Regions from separate parts of the Homo sapiens genome. Here region 1 is linked to region 2. Evidence: promoter capture Hi-C in human tissues and cell types (Jung and others, 2019). All regions are on one chromosome and are shown on one strand. Each heading gives the region's core, a stretch centred on a gene start or on the middle of the fragment in contact. The rest is flanking DNA. Distances are from core to core; before and after follow the strand shown.

What was found. The method cuts DNA at HindIII sites, captures the fragments that hold promoters and counts their contacts. A contact is called where the count stands out against the background at its distance.
Region 1: a contact is called between a fragment that was not itself captured here and the fragment with the promoter of ENPP7 in region 2, in 6 of the 25 tissues and cell types used here (IMR-90 fibroblasts, aorta, dorsolateral prefrontal cortex and 3 more).

The regions. Positions count from the first base shown.
Region 1 is chr17:79,769,103-79,771,802 of GRCh38, forward strand. No RefSeq gene overlaps it. Among named protein-coding and RNA genes, the nearest start is that of CBX2, 7.7 kb to the right of the region's middle. The HindIII fragment of the contact is 8,360 bases long and covers 1-2,700 here.
Region 2 is chr17:79,729,666-79,732,365 of GRCh38, forward strand. ENPP7 (ectonucleotide pyrophosphatase/phosphodiesterase 7) reads left to right here and starts at 1,278. Exons shown (of 6, transcript NM_178543.5): 1 at 1,278-1,727. The coding sequence starts at 1,475. RefSeq lists an enhancer at 1-77. The HindIII fragment of the contact is 31,927 bases long and covers 1-2,700 here.

The DNA.
Region 1 (2,700 bases), core at 110-2,609, 40 kb after region 2:
AAGAAGAGATAAGATGAGGACACAGATGTGCACAGAGGGACAACCCTATGAGGACGCAGGGAGAAGACACCGTCTACAGCCAAGGAGAGAAGAAACCAACCCTGCCCACATCTTGATCTAAAACTTCCAGCCTCCAGAACTGTGAGAAAATTAACTTCTGGGAGCCCCTAGAAGGGCTCCCAGGGCATGGAACTTTGTTGTGGCAGCCGGAGGAAATACACGACGGGAATAGCCAGTGCCCCATCCTGCAAGTCTAGGAAATTAAGAATCTTCCACTCATTTAACACAATCCAAGCAGTGCTAGGCTCAGTGGCTGCTAAACTGTTTTCTGATCTTGCCCTCTGGAGAGGGTACAAATGACCCCCAAAGTGGCCACAAATTCTTCCAGATCCTGTATGGTCACTCATTTGCTACTCCTCTGGTCAAGAGGTTGGAGTTTACCTCACATGGCTTCCATGCAACTTGCTGTGGCCCCTGGGACGTCAGCAAACATGGGACCCCAGCTTCCATTGGAACCACCGAAGAAAGGATCCACGCTGGCCTGCTGCAGACAGACAGCCCCGCCAACAACCAGCACCAAGCACCAGCCACGCAAGAAAGGCCATCCCAGGCCATCCAGCCCCAGCCAAGCCGAAGCCATGTGAGTGACGCCGGCATGACCAGCAGGAGCACTGAGGAGCTGAGCCCAAGGATGATCCGTCAGGCTAAGGTGTTCTCCCCGGCTAGGCCACAGCCCCCAGGTACTCAGGCAAACGCAAATCCAGTCGCTGCTGTGACTTGAGGTGAAGGAGCTTACCCCGAATAATCTGGGTGGGTCTGATCAATTCATTGAAAAGAAGCAACTCCGCCTGTGGACCGCAGCGCCAGCTCCTGTCTGAGTCGCCCCGGCTGCCTCTGAGGAAGGCTTGCTCTGCAGTTTGGGACTCGCCTCACCAGACCCCACCATCACATCAGCCAGTGCCTTCAGTAAATCTCTTTGAATGCTGATATTTCTATCTATTGGCTGTTTCTCTGGAGCACCCCGTGGTCTAGGTTGGGCTGGGGGTTCTGCTAGTACTTTTGTCATTCCCTTTGCTTTCCTGTGGCTGGAGACTGTGCTTTGTCATCGTTGCTGGCCCAGTTCCTGCCCGCCCTTCTCCTCCAGGGCATCCTACAAATGTCCTGTGCCACCACCTCTCATAGCGCTGCCAGGAGCAGTGTGAGAAGGACTCATGACCACGCCTCAATCCTGAATTCCCCTCGCCCGTTCCTCTCTGGATGCAATCTCACTACTTTGTCTTACTTCCCCTGCTTCAGAGGGCTGAGATTCGCCATCCTGGGGGGCACATGTCCCCATAAGCAGCATTCACACAGGACAGGGGCCTCTAAAGGCAGTGACCGCAGGATGCAACTTGTACTGAACCCAAAGAAATATGAATGTGAGGCCGGGCACAGTGGCTCATGCCTGTAGTCCCAGCACTTTGGGAGGCCGAGGTGGGAGGATCACTTGAGGTCAGGAGTTTGAGAGCAGCCTGGCCAACGTGGTGAAACTCCATTACTAAAAATATAAAAATTAGCTGGGCGTGGTGGTGTACGCTTGTAATCCCAGCTACTCGGGAGGCTGAGGCAGGAGAATCACTTGAACCCAGGAGGCAGAGGTTGCAGTGAGCTGAGCTAGCACCACTGCACTCCAGCCTGGGCGACCGAGCTAGACTCCATCTCAAAAAAAAAAAAAAAAAAAGAAAAGAAAAAGAAATATGGGGAGGGATAGCTTTAGGAGATATACCTAATGCTAAATGACGAGTTAATGGGTGCAGCACACCAGCATGGCACATGTATACATATGTAACTAACCTGCACATTGTGCACATGTACCCTAAAACTTAAAGTATAATAATAATAATAAAAAAAAAAGAAATATGAATGTGAGGTCAGTGGCAGCCTTTCCTGCTGATGCAGCAGGGACATGGAAAGTACAAGGTTTCAGCTTCAAGGAGGAATATCCTATAAACGTGCCTCAAAAGACAGTAGCCATCCCTGCCAGCATCAGGAGCCCATTCTTTCCAAATACACAGAGTCCAGCGAGGACACGCCAGGCCATAGGAGCTGAGGCTGCCAAAAACGCTTCTGTGCCTTGTGAGTTAAATTAACATCATTTCGGTGCACAGTGGCTCACACCTGCAACCCCAGCCCTCTGGGAGGTGAAGGCAGGAGGATCTCTTGAGCCCGGGAGTTCAAGACCAGCCTGGGCAACACAGTAAGACCCCCAATTTCTATAAAAATAAAAATAGTAGCCAGGTCTCGTGGCACACCTCTTGTAACCCCAGCTACCTTGGAGACTGAGGCAAGAGGATCACATGAGTCCAGGAGGTCAAGGCTGTGGTGAGCTATGATCACACTACTGCACTCCAACCTGGGCAACAGAGCAAGATCCTGTCTCCAAAAAAAAAAAAAAATTAGCATCATGGCTGGGTGCAGTGACTCACGCCTGTAATCCCAGCACTTTGAGAGGCCAAGGCGGGTGGATCATCTGAGCTCAGGAGTTCGGGACCAGCCTGGCCAACATGGCAAGACCCCGTCTGTACTAAAAAATATAAAAATTAGCCAGGCATGGTGGCGCGTGCCTGTAATCCCAGATATTCGGGAGGCTGAGGCAGAAGAATCACTGGAACCTGGGAGGTGGAGGTTGCAGTGAGCAAAGATCGTGCCACGGCACTCCAG
Region 2 (2,700 bases), core at 28-2,527:
CCATCCCACAGCCACCACCCTGGTCCGGGCCACCAATAGCTCTTGCTCAGACACAGGCAGTCACCTCTCCAGGGAGCACCCAGTGTCCATTCTGCCCTCGTTCTGGTCTATCCTTCACCCACAAATGGAGAGTATATTTTAGCATTAGATCAGTTCATGTCACTCTCTTGCTTAAAACCCCCGCCTGGCTTCCACTGCCTGGCATGAGAATCACCGCCACCTGCCCTACGGGACTGGCCCTGCCACCCCTGCCACCTGCCCCATGCCCGCTCCCCTAGCTCATGGTCCCCCAGAGTCACTGGCCTCCACCATCCTCTCAGCGAAACCCCACCAGCCACCACTGCGTGCCGCCCACCCACCCCGCCAGCCTCTCCATCACGTCTTCCTGCCTTCCCTTCTTTTGGGAAACTCTTTTTTTCTTGTTTGTTCATTTTATCTTCTGTGTCCCCAACTCGAATGGAGGCCACGAGGAACATTGTCTGTCTCATTCACTTCTGTGTCCCCAGAACCTAGAACCATGCCTGGCACACAGAACGTGCTTAATAGGAACTGAGACAGAGACATACAGGGAAGGAAAGAGGGAGAGAGACAGAGAAAGAGAGAGAAAATAAGAGAAGGGGAAGGAGAGATGGGGGAGAGGGAGGGAGAACCGCACACTGAATCCAGGGGTTCCTCTCCCACCCTTCATGTGCCTATGGTAACAAGGGAGTCCCCCTCTTCTGACCCCTTGTTGTCATCAAGCAAGAACGTCCGAGCCCCAGGCACCCTCTGAAATTCCCAAGAAGGAAGCATCCCAAGAAGGAAGCATCCCAAGAAGGAAGGCCCACAGGACGCTGGTCTGGAGCCATCCGGTTCCCGGTCTGCTCACCACGCTCAAGGAGCCCCTTAACAGGACCAGGAGGAGAACAGGCACCCAGCCTGGGGTTCCCCCCGGACAAGGCCATGCTGTGACCCAGGCTTGGTCCTGGCCCTGACCATGGGAAGCCCACCCCACAGGCCCTCACCCAGGCAGGCCTGAGGCCCATGCACCACTAAAGGCCTGGAGAGGGGGTCCCACCCCAGCCTCACCTGGGTCCCCTGGGGTCAGGGTGAGCTGGGACAGAGGGACCACCTGTTGCTATGGGAGAGGGAGAGGGCACGACTTTCCCAGTGGAATGGGCTCCTGCTGTGCTCTGAGCCCTGGGTCACTGTCCCCACTCTGGGGAGGGAGGGGAGGAGCCTGGAGCACCAAGGGCGCGGCTGGCAATAAAGGCAGATGCTCAAGTTGATGCCACCCCACGCACGTGAGGCTGGGACCAGGGGTGGCACTGACACGGCTGGGGAGCCCACTCCCGAGGTTCGACCCGGGGATGTGCACAGCCACATTCCAAAGGCGCACGGGATGAGATCAGCCCGGGTGACCCTGGGACTTTGTCCTCCTCGGCAGGAGCCAGCCCTGTGCACCCTGTGTGCCTGTCCATCTGGAAGGCCCAGCATGAGAGGCCCGGCCGTCCTCCTCACTGTGGCTCTGGCCACGCTCCTGGCTCCCGGGGCCGGAGCACCGGTACAAAGTCAGGGCTCCCAGAACAAGCTGCTCCTGGTGTCCTTCGACGGCTTCCGCTGGAACTACGACCAGGACGTGGACACCCCCAACCTGGACGCCATGGCCCGAGACGGGGTGAAGGCACGCTACATGACCCCCGCCTTTGTCACCATGACCAGCCCCTGCCACTTCACCCTGGTCACCGGTGAGTACTGCCCTGTGACGGGGCCTGGGGGTGGGAGGGCCTGAGAAACCAGATGGCACAGAGCCGTGTCGTGCAGGATAAAGGGGAGAGGTCCTTGCTCCAGGCACAGGACAGAGCCAAGGGGACCATTAGGAATCCTCACCGTTGGTAGCAACAGATCCGGGACAAAGAAAAATGACCAGGGGGGTCCTTAAACCCGTGGCCACAGCCAGGGCAGCAACCCCAGAAGGCTTCAGGAGGAGGGGAGTGTGGCGGGCTCCCCGCTGGCTCCCATGGCTCCCCTCCCCTGCCCGCCCCTCCAGCTGGCTGTGTCAGCCTCTCCCTCTCCCTTCCATCCTTTCCATTTTCCACCCAACACCTCCCTGACAGATCTGCCCAGGCTGTAGACAATACAGACATAGGTTTTTAAAAAGCCAAATATGGGGCCAGGCTCAGTGGCCCACGCCTGTAATCCCAGCACTTTGAGAGGCTGAGGCGGGCGGATCACTGGAGGTCAGGAGTTCGAGACCTGCCTGGCCAACATGGCGAAACCCCATCTCTACTAAAAATACAAACATTAGCCAGGCATGATGGTGCATGCTTGTAATCCCAGCTACTTGGGAGGCTGAGACAGGAGAATTGCATGAACCCAGGAGGTGGAAGTTGCAGTGAGCTGAGATCGCACCACTGCACTCCAGCCTGGGTGACAAAGCAAGACTGCATATAATATATATATACATATATATATACATATATATATGTATATATATATATATATACACACACATATATATATATATGAGGCCAAGGCAGGAGGATTGCTGGAGTCCAGGAGGTAGAGGCTGCAGTGAGCTGCAATCACACCACTGCACTCCAGCCTGGGTGACAGAGCAAGACCCTGTGTCAAAAAAACAAACAATAATAAAATAATAAAAAGCCAAGTACCACAAAAAAGGTGTTAGAGAATTGAAAAGCAATTGGCCCTCCCTAGGGG